Linked DNA regions of Homo sapiens: regions 2 and 3 are each linked to region 1. Evidence: promoter capture Hi-C in human tissues and cell types (Jung and others, 2019). All regions are on one chromosome and are shown on one strand. The core of a region is centred on a gene start or on the middle of the fragment in contact, and the rest is flanking DNA. Distances in the headings are between cores, read along the strand shown. Region 1 holds the start of ACSF3 (acyl-CoA synthetase family member 3). Region 2 holds the start of MVD (mevalonate diphosphate decarboxylase). Region 3 overlaps ANKRD11 (ankyrin repeat domain containing 11).

Region 1 (5,054 bases), core at 1,693-4,192:
TGGGGAGGCTTCCTATGGAGGGTGAGAAGGGCCTGGCCTAGCCAGAGTCGGCCGAGGGAAGGGGGGAGTCCTGGCACCTACAGCTGTGTTCACTCGGGGTGTCTAGGGCACAGATGCCGGGAAGTCACATTGCTGGGTCATCTTTAATTTTGAGAAATACTGACAAAGTCCCCTCCAACGAGGTGCTGATTTATTCTCCCACCAAGCATGTGGAAAACGGAACCAGCCCCATCAAACCAGCTTTTCAGTCCCTCAGGCTTGGGACAATGAAGTGCCCAGTCATCAGTTCTCTTCAGCACAGAGGTTGAATCTTCACGGTCATCGGATCAGAGCCCTGCCTCGAACACGCAGACAGAGCCTACTCAGGGCAGATGGCTGTGCGCGGTCTTCCTGCACACCTCCCGGTCCAGAGGCACCCCAGCTTCCTCAGAGAGAACCTCACCTTTCAACCACTGGGACCCCTTCTACCGTGGGGCTCCCCATCACCACCAGGAGCACAGTGTGGAGGGACACTGCCCACCAGACAAATGCAGTTCAGTCAGGGGCTTCCACCCTCAGCCAGCTTCATACCCCTGCTACGCAGCACCCTGATAACCCGAGGTCAGCGGCGTCACCACGTGGCTGGGCAAGGACTCTAGTCAGAAGCTGAGAAAGGTGCCTGAGCCAGGACAGCCTCCTTGGTGAAGGCGTACTGGAACCACTGAAAACAGTGGCTCTCCAGCCCTCGGGGAGGGAGGCAGGACCTCTCGGTGTTCTAGCCATCAGGTTCTGAGATCAGACCACTAAGGCACTGGGGCTTCTCGGGAACACACATGCAGCGCAGCGGGATGCATCTTTTCCCTCCTAACTGGAGTGCTGGTTAATGGCAGAGTTAGTCACCACAGGCTTCGACTTGAACGGCTGCTGCCTTTGTCCTCATTTCCTCACTGGCCTAGCCCTTCACTTCCCACCGCTAAGATGGCACAGTAACAAGACCTGCCTCACAGGCTTCACGTGAGAATGTACGAATGGCCCGGCACAGGCCAGGCAGAAGACAAACGGCCGCGCCGTGCTCAGCAGGGTGCTCCCCATGGAGCCTCGCAACAAAAATTACTAGATGAGAATGACACTCGCATTCAAATGAAGGGCTGCTTTCAACATGAATAAAACGACACCTGACCTGTTCACCACCACACCTGACACCCCCGCCCCCCCAGACCTTGTGTTTGAAGTGGATGCCGGCACTTCCTCCTGTCGGCTGCCCCGATGAGAGCGTGGGGCAGAGGAGGGCTGTGCTCGGCCTGCGGGGCAGGATGCGTTTCAGCATCACACCTGTGGTTTGGAGGGTTATTTTCAAAATTACATTTTTAAGTAACAGACATTCACATTGCATTCATGAGCAGTACATTCAAATAAAAAAAACCAAAAAGGAAAAATACACTTGAAACCCATATCCATTTTAGGAAGAAAAATACTATTTTAAAAATGCCATCTGGAAAGGTGACACTTACAACTATCCCAAGCCCACAGTTTAATCCGCCATTTCTGTCTGCCTTGAGGAGATGGTTCAGAGCCAAAGGAGCAAGAGCAAGGGAAGCCTCATCTTATGTCCTCCAACACCTGCGGAGAGGACACCAGCCTGAGCCAGGCTTCACGCTACAAAGCTCGCAGGGTCCCCAGGGTCCACCGGTAGTAACACCCGTGCTCCTGGGTCCACCATGTGAACCCCCTCCTCAACAAGGTCTCAGCCTTGGGCCCTAACACGAATGTCTGTCCTCCCAGGATGGGAAAGCAACAACTATGCCCCAGACACAATTCGTGTTCCTATCTCTAAACGTGTTCCCTTTCTAGCAAATTCCTAATCATTCTTCCAAGCCCAGTTCAAATATCACCTCTTCTTTTTCAGTTTTATTATTTATTGAGACAGTGTCTTGCTCTGCCACCTAGGCTGGAGTGCAATGGTGCTGTCATGGCTCACTGCAGCCTCCGATTCCTGGGCTCAAGAAATCCTCGTGCCTCAGCCTAACCAGTAGCTGGAAGTGCAGGTGTACGCCACCACACCCAGCTAATTTTTACATTTTTTTGTAGAGATAGGGGTCTCACCATGTTGCCCAGGCTGGCTTTGAACTCCTGGCCACAAGTGATCCTCCTGCCTCTGCTGCCCAAAGCGCTGGGATTACAGGCATGAGCCACTGCACCTGGCCTGCCTGGTGGAATTTAGACTCAGGACAGCAACATCAACTCCTGACTGCACCGGGCCTCACCCCTTTAAACCTTCCCTCTCTCCAGGGAATGGGCTGCCTGCAGTACCTTCCAAATACTTCACGGCCGGCCGCACGTCTCCATTGCTTGCTCATAGATCTACATGCCCTCAGGGGCTAGGCCGGCTGTGAACCTGTGCCCCACGCGCCCAGCAAGGTGCACGCAGCAAACAACTAAAACGGGGAGTACTTCAAGGGTGACTTCTGAAGCCCAATGAGAAATGGAAGTGAATTTATTCCAAACACAACCAAAGACGATTCGTTCTGAGGATGCCTGAACACGGACCCCGCCGGCTCGACGGTATCACCGGGCCCGGCGTCCGCACAGCTTCTCTCCCCGCACCCCGCGCGGGGGCCCCGCTCCCCACCGGACACGAGAGGCTCGGCGTCCCGGGAAGGCCGACGCCCGGCCCCAGGCGGCTCGCGGGGAAGCGACCGCGCCACGGGCCACGGCTCAAGCCCAGCTGCGACCCAGGGGCGGGCGCCGGAGCCCGCGCCCCCGAGAGCTCTGCGCCCGGCCGACCCCGCCGCGGTCCCGTGGGCCCCGCCGCCCGCACCTACGAGACGGCCGCGGCCACGGGGCAGGATCTGCCTCGCCACAACTCTTCCTCGTCCTCCGCCGCGCGCGCGCCGGGGTCGGGCCGGGTTCCGGCCGGGTCCCGCGGGGTCGTGAGTCGGGCCGGACCAGTTCCGGCGCCCAACAGCTTCCCCGGCGCGGCGCGTCCGTCGCCCAAGCGCGTCCCCCCGGCGCGGCGCCGTGGCGGCGGGTTCCGGGCGCGCGTGTTCCCCTGTCCCGCCCGTCCCGTCGTGGCGGGGTCGGGGCCGCGGGCGTCTCGTGAGCCGTGGCCGAGGCAAGGCGCCGTGGTCTCCGCTAGCCCAGGGCTGCCCAGATCAGAACGGCGCGCGGGACCACTCCCAACGCGGATTGCTGGGCCTCGCCCCGTCCTCCCAAAAGGGGCTCTCTGGGCTTTGCGGCTGGGGGTCTGCACGCTGAGCTCCTGGGTGATTTTATTATTATTATTATTGTTGTTACTTTTTCTTATTATTATTATTATTTTGAGATGGAGTCTCGCTCTGTCGCCCAGACTAGAGTGCAGTGGTGTGATCTCGGCTCACCGCAACCTCCGCCTCCCGGGTTCAAGTGATTCTCCTGCCTCAACCTCCCAATTAGCTGGGACTACAGGCGCCCGCCATCATGCCTGTCTAATTTTTGTATTTCTTGGGTGATTTTAAACGGACCGCATTTGAGAATCTCTCCTCGAAGGGACTTGGGAACCAGGATACGAATATGAAGCGAGACTGTTGGATGGACAGTGGCGGAAAACATTTAAAGCCAAACACAAAGTCCAGTTGGCTGAAATTTGAGGGTTTTTCCCCTAAAATGAATACTAATAACACAAAGACATGTACTGGCAAACAGTAGTACAAATTATCTGCAGAACCGTCCTGGTGTGATGGCTCACGCCTGTAATCCCAGCACTTTGGGAGGCCGAGGTAGGCAGATCACGAGGTCAGGAGTTCAAGACCAGCCTGACCAACATGGTGAAACCCTGTCTCTCCTAAAAATACAAAAATTAGCCGGGAGTGGTGGCAGGTGCCTGTAATCCCAGTTACTCGGGAGGCTGAGGCAGGAGAATCTCTTGAGCCTGGGAGGTGGCGACTGCAGTGAGCTGAGATTGCGCCACTGCACTCCAGCCTGGGCAGCAGAGTGAGACTGTCTCAAAAAAAAAAAAAAATTATCTGCAGAACCTTGCACAGTTTTTTTGTAAGTGTATTATTTTCCATGCCCATCTTCCTCTCTTGTGATGATTGCTGGGGCAGCAGTTGTGTCCTTGGAAAGCTCAGGAAAGGGCACTTCAGGAGCCCGAGGATGGTTTTCCTGGGAGGAAGGAGCTGGATCTGGGGGAAGTTTGTAACACAGAGCGTGGGAGAACAAACCCAAACTTCTAGTGCCTCTGGTTGCCACCCTGCTAGGTATCATGCAGAAAAAGCAAGTCCAACCCTCTGCCACTGGGACAGGCTTGATCTGGTGTCAGAATTCTGTCTGCTTCCAGGACTCAGCAGGCTGAATGGTGTTTCCGACGAGGGCAGTAGGAAGAGTAAGGAGGGCGTCTAACATCAGGATTCAGCCCCAGGACGTGTGTGCGCAAATTTCTATCCCTGGGAAGTTGAAGAGCTCAGGCTGCGTCACCCACCTAGAGACAGGACTTGGGACAGGGTGACAGCTCCCGTGGTCCTTGGCCATGGCTCTGTGAGGGTGGCAGTGGGGGGAGGGTGCAGTCTCCGAGAAATGGCCCAGTCATCCTATGAGCAGGGGTCCCATCTGTGCCTCGGCTCTGGTCAGCATCATAGTGGCAGGTGGGAAGCAGGAGCAGTCAGGGATTAGCAGACATTGGAGGACAGCCTCTAGCCAGAGAGACGTGGGCTGAAACAACCAGCAGAACAACTGCAGGCAGCCAGGCTGTGCAGAGTGAAGAGACCCCCAAAACCACCCCCTGTTAATACCCTCAGGGAGACAAGGGAAGCGACAGCCCCCATGAGTCCAGAGCGAGATGCCCCGAGAAAGAGCGTTCCAGTAACATAAAGGGGGGCTGGAGGGGTCAGAATACAACAGCCTGAGTAAAAACCCTAAGGGAAGGGCTAAAGGACGTCTCCTAGAAATAGAACAGAAAGACCGAGAGATGAAAAACAGGAGAGGAAAGATAAAAAAATCAGTGGGCTCAGGCAGGCATCCAATATGCTAAATACGGTAGTTTCAGGAAGGGAGGGCAGAGAAAACAGAGAGAAGTCAGCTGTCAGGTAAACTCGTGGACA
Region 2 (5,054 bases), core at 1,405-3,904, 430 kb after region 1:
CCAGCCTGGACAACAGAGTGAGACCCTGTCTCTAAACAAAAATAAATTGTTTTTTTTTCTACTGGACTTAAACAATCTGCCCTCCTTGGCCTCCCAAAGCACCAAGCCTGTGTCTTCTTTTTCATCACAGCCGTGGCAGAAGGAAGGAGGTGACTGGAAGCCCCACTCTCTCTGAGTAGCTGAGGGAATACACCCTGACTATAGGCCGAGACAGTCCACATCAGCTCTTCAATAGGATTTAGTGGCTTTGCATAAAATGGAAAAGCAGCTGTGATTGCAAGAGAAATTAAAAATAACCACCATCTGAAATGCAAATTGAAAACAGTGAGACAACACATGTCACTCTGGCAGGTGACCCACTGTGCTGGTGAAGGCATGCAGGCACTCTCAGACTTCCGCAGAGAGACCTGAGTAATCAATTGACTTCCACAAAGGGCGACTTGCCAACAGCTATCAAAAGTACTCAGGCACATCCCACTTGGCCCAGCAATTCCACTTCCAGGAATTTCTCCTGCAGAAATACATGTGCACAAACAACGTAGGAAAGCACTGTTTATAGTAACAACCCAACTAGGACAGACCAGGTATATTTAGACAACAAACAAGGAAGCTTTTTACTAAATTGGGATGATCTCTAAGAAGAAGGTACGTAGAAAAAGCAAGGTGGGAGAACACGCTATGTGCTTGTACTATGCACGTCAATGAAAAAATACACAAAGAATTGACAGGCCAGGTGGAGTGGCTCACACCTAATCCCAGTACTTTGGAAGACTGAGATGGGAGGGTTCCCTGAGGCCAGGACTTCAAATCAGCCTGGGCAACATAGCAAGACCCCCCCACATCTCTACAAAAAAATTAAGAAAAAAATTAGCCGGGCATGGTGGTGTGTACCTGTAGTCCCAACTACTGAGGAAACTGAGGTGGGAAGATCCCTTGAGCCAGGAGGTCGAGGCTGCATGGAGCTTTGATCGTACCACTGCCCTCCAGCCTGAGCAACAGAGTGAGAAAAAAAACAGACTTTTTTTCTATTTCTGGAAAAAAATAAAGAATTTATAAGTATGATGGTTCTGGTAATAGAAGTAGGTGGCTAGGCAGAGTGGACACTTCACACTGCATACTCCCCTATTTTCCGAAATCTGAGTTTTTTTTTTTTTTTTTTTTTTTTTTGAGATGGAGTCTTGCTCTGTCACCCTGGCTGGAGTACAGCAGCACCATCTCGGCTCACTGCAACTTCCGCCTCCTGAGTTCAAGCAATTGTCCTGCCTCAGCCTCCCCAGTAGCTGGGATTACAGGCGTGCACCACACGCCCACCTAATTATTGTATTTTTAGTAGAGACAGGGTTTCACCATGTTGGCCAGGCTGGTCTCAAACTCCTGACCTCGTGATCCGCCCACCTCGGCCTCCCAAAGTGCTGGGATTACAGGTGTGAGCCACCATGCCCAGCCAATCTGAGCTATTTAAAAACTAAAGGTAAAATTTTAAAAGGGGAAGGGGAAAATGGGAAGTCATTGTTTTAAGGGGACAGAGTTTCTGTTTGGGGTGAGAAAACTCTAGAAATAGTGGGGGCGTGGCACATGATTGGAATGAATGGCAGGGAACGGCACGCTTAAATGTTCCTGTACGTTTCACAGGAGAAGTCAATGCACACACAAGCGCCGCAACCCAGTCCAAGGCTTTGCTCCTACAGGGCCTTACAGGGGGTATTTGAGACGCCCACCTTAATGCAGGTTGGACCCAGCTCCGGGCTGCGGGGCTTCCCCGCCCCGGGGTCTTTCGTGTGAGCCCCGTGGCGGGGGATCCTGGCCCAGGACATGGCGCGGAGAAGGCTGTGGGCGGCGGGACAGGGTGCCTTCGGCTGCCGGGTTAAGAGTGGATCCCGGGATACATCCTCCAGCGCCTGCCCTCGGGCCTGTGTGCACCCCCATACCCAGCGGGGCCGTCCAAGAGCTTCAAGGAGGGCACAGCGCGACCCGCCCTCCCCTCAGCCCCGCACACCGTCCCACGGCCCCGCACAGCCTCCCTCCCACACAGCGCCCCACGGCACCCGCACAGCGCCCCACGGCCCCTTCATGGTCCCCGCACAGCGCCTCACAACCCGCACACAGCGCCTCACGGACCCTTTACGGCCCCCGCAGAGTCTCCCACACGGCGCCCCACACAGAGCCTCACGGACCCCGCACAGCGCCTCAAGGTCTCCGCACAGCCCCCAGCACAGCGCCTCACACAGCCCTTCGCACAGCCCCCCGCACAGCTCCTCACGGGCCCCACACAGCTGCCGCACAGCCCCGCACAAGCCCGCACAGCACCAGCAGACAGGTAGCCCCCACAGGCAACAGCGCCCACCTCGCCGCGCCCAGACCCCGGATCGCCGACGCGGACGCCAGGCGCCTGGGCACACGGCGCCTGCGCAGACAACACCACGCCCCAGGCCTGGCGAGCGCACCCTGCGGGTGGGGCGGACCTACGTCAGCAACCCATCGTCCGATCCCGTCCATTGGCTGAGAGGTAATGCGTGCGCCCGACTCGCCGCTGATTGGTCGGCGCGCGAGCAGCCGGGCTCGCACGGGCCAATCCTGTGGTAGCGCGTGAGGAGGCAGAGGCCTCTGGGGTGGGATCGCGGGCCGTAAGTGGCTGTGGAGCTGGGGTCACTGCGCGGTGGGACCATGGCCTCGGAGAAGCCGCTGGCGGCAGTCACTTGTACAGCGCCGGTCAACATCGCGGTCATCAAGTACTGTGAGTGCCGCGGGCCGGCCTGGGACGGGGATGGCCGGGAGCGAGGCCGGGTACGCGGGGGTCGCGCGCTGATTCGGCGGCGCGCTCCGTCCTGCCCTCCCAGGGCCTCGACAGACGGGGAAACTGAGGCTCAGGGAGGGGCGCGGCGGTGGTCGGGCGGGGCCGCGCGCTCCTTCGCGTGACAAGCTCGGCGCCACCCGTTCCCCCGCGACGGCTGCCGCCCCTGCAGGGTCGCCCGGCGCCTGCCCATTAGCGATTACCGAACTATCGAAATCATCAATCATCGATTCCCATGAATCGTAAGAATCCGCCGTGGTGGTGCGCGTTTGTGGCTCCAGCTACTCGGGAGGCTGAGGCGGGAGGATGGCCAGAGCCCGGGAGGTCGAGGCTGCAGTGAGCGGAAATCGCGCCACTGCTCCCCCAGCCCGAGACCCTGTGTCCCTCCCTCGCCCCGTTTCTCCCAGCGGTAACCTCCAAGGAGCGGTAATGGGGGGCCCGCAGGCCCACATCCGTGCCGGGGAGGCCGGTCCGCACCTGTGCGTTCACAGCCCCGCCCCTCCCCTCGCGCCGGGGTTACCTGGCCGCCACTGACCACTCATTTCTGTAACGTCATTTCAAAATGTTCTGAAACTGGAATCGCAGTTATGTGGCCCACCCAGTATCTTTTGAGTTTGGCTTATTTCATTCAGCATAGAATGTGGACGTGCCCCGGGATTGTATCAGTGCTTTGCCCCTCTGTTGCTGAGCCAGTCCGTGGAATCCATGGACCACCCTCTCTCTAGCCAAGGCCTCACCCCGCAAAGAGCATCTAACGTTTTCTTTCTTTCTTTCTTTTCTTTCCAGAAGCCGCCACCACGACTGGCTAATTTTTTTGTGTTTCCCTTACCAATAAAGCTGCCATAAAATGTTGTATACAGGTTTTTGTGTGAACATACATTTCCATTCTTCTGGGATAAATGCCCAGGAGTGCGGTTGCTGGGTCAGATGGTAGATATATATATATGCCTCTCTGTCTCTCTCTCTCTTTCTATGTATATATGTATGTTTGTGTGTGTGTATATATATATACACCTGTATAGATATATGTGTGTGTATATGTATACACCTATATAGATGTATGTGTGTGTATATATACATATATATATTATATATATACTTTTTTTTTTTAAAGAAACTGTCTAATTGTTTTTCAGAGTGGCTGGGCCATTTTGCATCCCTACGGTGATGCAGATTTTCCGCATCCTCACCAGCATTTGGTGGAGTTGCTGTTTTTCATTTTAGCCGCGTCCTGGTAGGGATGTGCTGGCAGGGTGCTGTGGTCCTCATTCGCGTTTCCCTGTTGGCCAGTGACGTGGAGCATCTTTCTTTGTGCTTATTTGCCATCTGTGGGTTTTCTTGGTGAAATCTCTCTTCATATTCTGTGTCCACGCTCGAACTGGATGGTTTGCTTTTTTACTATAAGTTTGGAGAGTTCATTACACATTCTAGGCTGGGCACGCTGGCTCAAGCCTGTAATCCCAGCACTTGGGGAGGCTGAGGTGGGCGGATCACCTGAGGTCAGGAGTTTGAGACCAGCTTGGCCAACATGGTGAAACCCCCGTCTCTACTGAAAAAAAATAAAATATGTATTCTAGATATTAGTCTCCTGTTGGACATGTGGTTTGCAGGTATTGTCTCCCAAACTAGCTAATCTTTTTGTCCTCTTAACAAAGAGCCAGTTTTTCATTTTAAAGAAGTTCAGTGTATCAATGTTGATGTCAAGTCTAAGACCTCTTTGCTTAGCCCTATGTCCTGAAGATTGTCTGCTTTCCTCCAAGTTGTACAGGATTGCCTTTTATATTTAAGTCTGTGATCCAAGGTTGTCCAGTTAGCCCAGAAAGGCTATCCTTCCTCTATTGAATTGCTTTTGCACTTTTGTAAAAAAAAAAATCAGCTGGGCATGTTTGTGTGGGTCTATTTCTGGATTTTCTCTTCTGCTATTTTTTTTTTTTTTTTTTTTTTTTTTGAGACAGAGTCTTGCTCTGTCACCCAGGCTGGAGTGCAGTGGCACAATCTTGGCTCACTGTAACCTCCGCCTCCTGGGTTCAAGCAATTCTCCTGCCTTAGTCTTCTGAGTATTTGGGACTACATGCACGTGCCACCACACTTGGCTAATTTTTGTATTTTTAGTAGAGATGGGGTTTCACCGTGTTAGCCAGGCTGGTCTGAAGCTCCTGACCTCGTGATCTGCCCACCTCAGCCTCCCAAAGTGCTGGGATTACAGGTGTGAGCCACCGCGTCTGGCCTTTTATTTTTATTTTTTATATTTATTTATTTTATA
Region 3 (5,054 bases), core at 1,433-3,932, 310 kb before region 1:
TAGTTGGGGAAGCCGAGGTGGGAGGATCGCCTGAGCCCAGGAGGTCGAGGCTACGGTGAGCTCATATCACACCACTGCACTCTAGCCTGCGTGACAGAGCCAGAACTTGTCTCAAAAACAGTTACCTATGTGACTAGAGGAGCTGTTTTGCAAATGTGCCCTACAGAATACAGTCATGCCCCACGTAACGGCATTTTGTTCCACAACAGACCGCATATGTGGTACCTCCTTCCACAAGATTTTTTATTTATTTATTTTTTTGAGATGGAGTCTTGCTCTGTCGCCCAGGCTGGAGTGCAATGGCGTGATCTCCACTCACCGCAACCTCGCCTCCACCGTGACACCAGGTTAACTGGTGTGGGCAGTTGTCCTGTGAGAGCGTGTGACGGGGCGTCGGGCTGTGTTGTGGGCCATGGCTCTGGTGGGATGGGAGAGGAGAAGTTTTTAGATGTTTCTTTTTGGAAGTCTGATTTCAGTTTTATTTAAAACAACAAACTACATTTATGGTGGTCTGTGGACACGATGTTTGTCCACGAGTTCACTTTACTGTAAAGGAAAGAACATCAACCAAGCAAGAGTCAATAGTGTGATTTACAGTGGTTCTTTTATTGTGTAGTACATTCAGCGTCAAGGTGGCATTTGGATCCATGATGCCTTCATCCTCAGAATGACCTTGCGAGGTAGGCGTGGCTGAGCACATGGCCAGCTGGGCCTGTCCCTGCCTGTTCTCCAGGCTTCACCTCTGTGTGCTTGTAGGAAGGTTGAACATGCCACTTTGTGGCATCCAGAGTTTCTCGCCCTCAGGATCCATAGTAGTGACTGCGTCTGTCTTCTCCTGACCTAGGCATTAGCCTGATAGAGTGCTGGTAACTTTGCGAGTCAACAGTGTTTTCAAAAGCAGCTTTTCCTTCTCTTCTCTTTACCCCATACCCTTCAAACTGTTGGCTCATTTTCTGGAGGACACCAGAATAACAAAATAATATTTTGTGGCTATTAATCCTTTAAAAGCAGAGGAAAATTTTTCCTAGCAGGAGACATAATAGGGTTGTACCTTTTCAGTGTTTTCAGTGAAGGCAATTTTTTTCATGCCCTTTGATTACAAAAATGTATTCCTTCCTGCACTTCCATTTTCCTTAGTTACACAGATGTTGATGTTCTCAGAGTCTTTGCTGGTGATTTAGTGCCTTGGTGAGGGTGGATAGGAGACTAGAACAGGGTTCTACAGTCGGCCAAACTGGGCTTCCCCTCTCAACCCCATGCTGCCTGAGGCTGGTGGGTCGAGCCACCTGTGGGCTGTGTCCATGACTGTCTGTTGGTGCTGAGAGGACTCCTGATTCTTCACAATCATGTGCCGGGCTAGCAGCTTATGTGATGCAGCGTTTGCTCTGAGAGTTTCCTGTAGTTTGGAATTTTAGTTATAAGTTTGCCATAGTTCTGAGTCTCTTGCATTCTTTCACCCTATTTTAGTTTTATAATCTTGCTCCTTTCTGTGCCCTATAATATAAAGATGTGTTGTTGTTTTGCTTTTTTAAGAGACAAGTCTTGCTTTGTTGACCAGGCTGGAGTGCAGTCATGGCTTACTGCAGCCTCAACTCTTGGACTGAAATGATGCCCCTTCCTCAGCCTTCCGAGTAGCTGGGACTCCAGACGCATGTCACCACACCCGCCTAATTTTTTTATTTTTACTTTTTTAGAGGTGGGCTTGCTCTGTTGCCCAGATTGGCCTCAAACTTATGGCCTCAAGTCATCTTCCTGCCTCAGCCTCTTGAGTAGCTGTGATTAAAGGCACGTGCTGTCGTGCTCACCTAAAGAAGTGTTTTGAAATCCCTTCCCGGGGAGGCAGCAGGGCTTTTATGTAAGTGGTCTCTGGTCTTTGTCTGTTTGGTGGTGTACTTTTTTTTTTTAAGCTACTGTCATTGCCCAGTCGTAGTTGAGCGTGTGTCCAGTTGCTTTATGTGTGGGCTTCCTGGGGGTGCCCTCCCAGAGCGCGGGGCCTCGCTTACTGAGAAACTTCCTCGGGACTTGGGTTCCCCGCTCTGCCCTCACCTGCGTGTGCTCTGCTGCTTCCTATCCTCAGACAGATGAGCTCCTCCATGTTCTTCCACGCGGTGCTGGGGCCAGTCAGGAGGGGCCGGTCAGGAGGGGGGAGCAGGCCACACAGGATTGCTCACAACATGTGCGTGGCTGGTGTGAGTGAGTGCGCATCAGATACTTCCTGTCAGTGCCCGTAAAGCAGAAGAGAGGGAGCGGATCAGGCCCTAGGGAGTGCGGGGTCCACCTGCCAACAGGAAGTTTCTCTGTAGTGTTTTACCTGAAAGCACGAGGGCACGTCACGCTGAGAGGTTGATGATGTGTCCACGTGCAGTGATGACAGCAGCGTTCCAGGCCACCCGCCACCACGCAGTTGAGCGAGGCAGTGCCCATGTGGAGCCTGGTGTTTGATGGTGGGGCTGAGGTGACTGGCCTTGCTCTAGAGCTGGAGCCCAGGCGGAAAAGAGGTCTCCACTGGCAGGCTAGGTTGCCTGCTTTGTTGGGAGTGGCGCAGTGCTGGCCCTGATGGGGCTCCTTCCCCCGGGAGAGCCTGGAGGGTCTGCAGGCCCCACCCCGCCCACCTCCTCCCGCAGTGCCGCCCCCCCAACCTCATTCCGCAGAACCCCCACCTCACCTCATCCCACAGAGCTGTCCCCTCACCTCACCCTGCAGATACCCCCTATCTCACCCCACAGAGCCCCTGCCCCCTCTCCTAACCTCGCAGAGCCACCTCACCTCCTCCCGCAGAACCACCCCCTTCACCTCACCCTGCAGTGCTGCCCCCCCCACCCACAGCTCACTCAAGGCTTGAACTCCCAGGCTCAACCAATCCTCCCACCTCAGCCTCCCGAGTAGCTGGGACTCTGCTGGTGTGCGGCACCATACGCAGCAATTTTTAAATGTTTTTCTAGAGGCGGGGTCTCCCTGTCATTCCCAGGATGCTCTTGAACTCTTGGAGTCAACCGATCTTCCCGCCTCGGCTTCCTCATGTGTTAGGTACAGGCTGAGCTACTACCTAAATTTAAATTGATGTGCCTACCGATTTAAATAAGCGCTCAATCCCAGATACCTTATTGTGGCTGGCTAAGGTTAGGAGTTCATGTGAACTGTACATTAGTATCGCTGAGACAAGCCTCGTTCTTTCTACAAAGAACTGGCGTACGTCACGTGTAGGCACCCAGATATAATTGGTTCCACATTTCGCCTGCCTTTGTTGGAAGGGCTGTGCTTTCATGCAGTGAACTGTAGGTCGTCCTCCTTACTCTAAAAGTTACACAGATTCAGTGCCTTATGGAAAAGTCAGGATTTCCATTAAAGAGGTCCATGGACAGAGAGTGAAACTTGGTGTGGGGGTCTTTCGGGGCTGCCGTGATAAATCACCACAGACCAGGAGCTTTCACAGCAAGGATCTGTTCTCCCACGGCTCTGAGACCAAGCTGTCTGCAGGGCCGGTTCCTTCTGCGGTGCTGGAGGGGTGGGGGCGGGCATCTGCTCCAGGCCTCTCTCCAGGTTCTGGGGGATGGGGGAGTCTCTGGTGTGCCCGGCGGGTTCTGGGGGATGGGGGAGTCTCTGGTGCGCCCGGGCTTGTAGACGCATCACCACGATCTCCGCCTCCCTCTTCACCCAGCGTTCTCCCTGCGTGCACAGCTCAGTGTCCACGTCTGCCCTTTGTAGAAGGAAGCTAGTTCTGTGGGGTGAGGGCCCACCCTAGCGATCTCACCTGGATCATCTGCAAAGACCATGTTTCCCAGGAAGGCCATCGTCTGTGGTGTTGGGGGGCTAGGACTTCAACATACCATTCTTGGGGGACACATTTCAACTCATAACACCAGTAAATAAAGCATAGAGAAGAAAGTAAAAATCGCCTGTAATCCTTCCACCCAAGATAAAACATGTAAATCTAAAATGTTGAATATATCATGTACTTTTTACAAAATAAGGATTACTCTGGATATAAGGCTTCACATTCTGCATTTTAAAGCTTAGCATTAATTTCCCATTATCCCAGCGTGATATTTAGTGGCTGCATAATCAAGAGAGAAATTTAATGCCAGACGCAGTGGCTCGTGCTGTAATCCCAGCACTTTGGGAGGCCAAGGTGGGTGGATCACGAGGTCAGGAGTTCGAGACCAGCCTGGCTAACATGGCGAAACCCGGTCTCTACTAAAAATCCAAATGTTAGCCGGGCGTGGTGGCGGCCGTCTTGGAAGGCTGAGGCAGGAGAATTGCTTGAACTTGGGAGGCAGAGGTTGCAATGAGTCGAGATCACACCATTGCACTCCAGCCTGAGCAGCAGAACAAGACTCCCTCTGGGGAGGGGGAGGGCGGGTGGGGGGGAGAGAGAAATATATAACATTACTGAGACAACTTGAGGGCCAGCGTGTTGTGGATTTGTCCACCCACACGCGGGGCCTCCCTTTCCATCTTGGTCTTGGGTGCCATGCCAGGCAGCCCCGGGGCAGACGGGGGATGTGTCTGTGAACCCGAGCAGGGTGGAGCCTGTGAGAGGGTGTCTGCAGAGGGTGGAGGGCGACAGGCGTCCAAGGTGTGTGCAGCTGGTCCAGGTGGCTGCAGGGGTTCCCGTCAGATGACCAGCCTCCAGCGCAGGGAAGCCTGGGGCAGCAGATGACCGGCCCCCAGCGCAGGGAAGCCTGGGGCAGCAGATGACCATCCCCCAGCGCAGGGAAGCCTGGGGCAGCAGATGACCGGCCCCCAGCGCAGGGAAGCCTGGGGCAGCAGATGACCGGCCCCCAGCGCAGGGAAGCCTGGGGCAGCAGATGACCATCCCCCAGCGCAGGGAAGCCTGGGGCAGCAGATGACCGGCCCCCAGCGCAGGGAAGCCTGGGGCAGCAGATGACCGGCCCCCAGCGCAGGGAAGCCTGGGGCAGCAGATGACCATCCCCCAGCGCAGGGAAGCCTGGGGCAGCAGATGACCGGCCCCCAGCGCAGGGAAGCCTGGGGCAGCAGATGACCGTCCCCCAGCGCAGGGAAGCCTGGGGCAGCAGATGACCGTCCCCCAGCGC

Evidence for each region. Contacts are between HindIII fragments. The study calls those that stand out against the background at their distance.
Region 2: a contact is called between the fragment with the promoter of MVD here and the fragment with the promoter of ACSF3 in region 1, in 2 of the 25 tissues and cell types used here (dorsolateral prefrontal cortex and mesenchymal stem cells).
Region 3: a contact is called between a fragment that was not itself captured here and the fragment with the promoter of ACSF3 in region 1, in 1 of the 25 tissues and cell types used here (small bowel).

The regions. Positions count from the first base shown.
Region 1 is chr16:89,091,740-89,096,793 of GRCh38, reverse strand. ACSF3 (acyl-CoA synthetase family member 3) reads right to left here and starts at 2,942. Exons shown (of 11, transcript NM_001243279.3): 1 at 2,798-2,942. RefSeq lists enhancers at 770-939, 2,159-2,348 and a silencer at 2,769-3,178. The HindIII fragment of the contact is 24,302 bases long and covers 1-5,054 here.
Region 2 is chr16:88,660,691-88,665,744 of GRCh38, reverse strand. It overlaps MVD (mevalonate diphosphate decarboxylase), which reads left to right and starts at 2,654. Exons shown (of 10, transcript NM_002461.3): 1 at 2,654-2,734. The coding sequence starts at 2,665. SNAI3-AS1 (SNAI3 antisense RNA 1) reads right to left here and starts at 2,372. Exons shown (of 4, transcript NR_024399.1): 1 at 2,345-2,372. RefSeq lists silencers at 1,990-2,149, 2,490-2,909 and an enhancer at 2,360-2,409. The HindIII fragment of the contact is 7,255 bases long and covers 1-5,054 here.
Region 3 is chr16:89,400,401-89,405,454 of GRCh38, reverse strand. All of the region lies in intron 2 of ANKRD11 (ankyrin repeat domain containing 11), which reads left to right. All of the region lies in intron 1 of LOC128462377, which reads left to right. Among named protein-coding and RNA genes, the nearest start is that of ANKRD11, 88 kb to the left of the region's middle. RefSeq lists enhancers at 367-416, 3,066-3,566, 3,567-4,067. The HindIII fragment of the contact is 6,709 bases long and covers 1-5,054 here.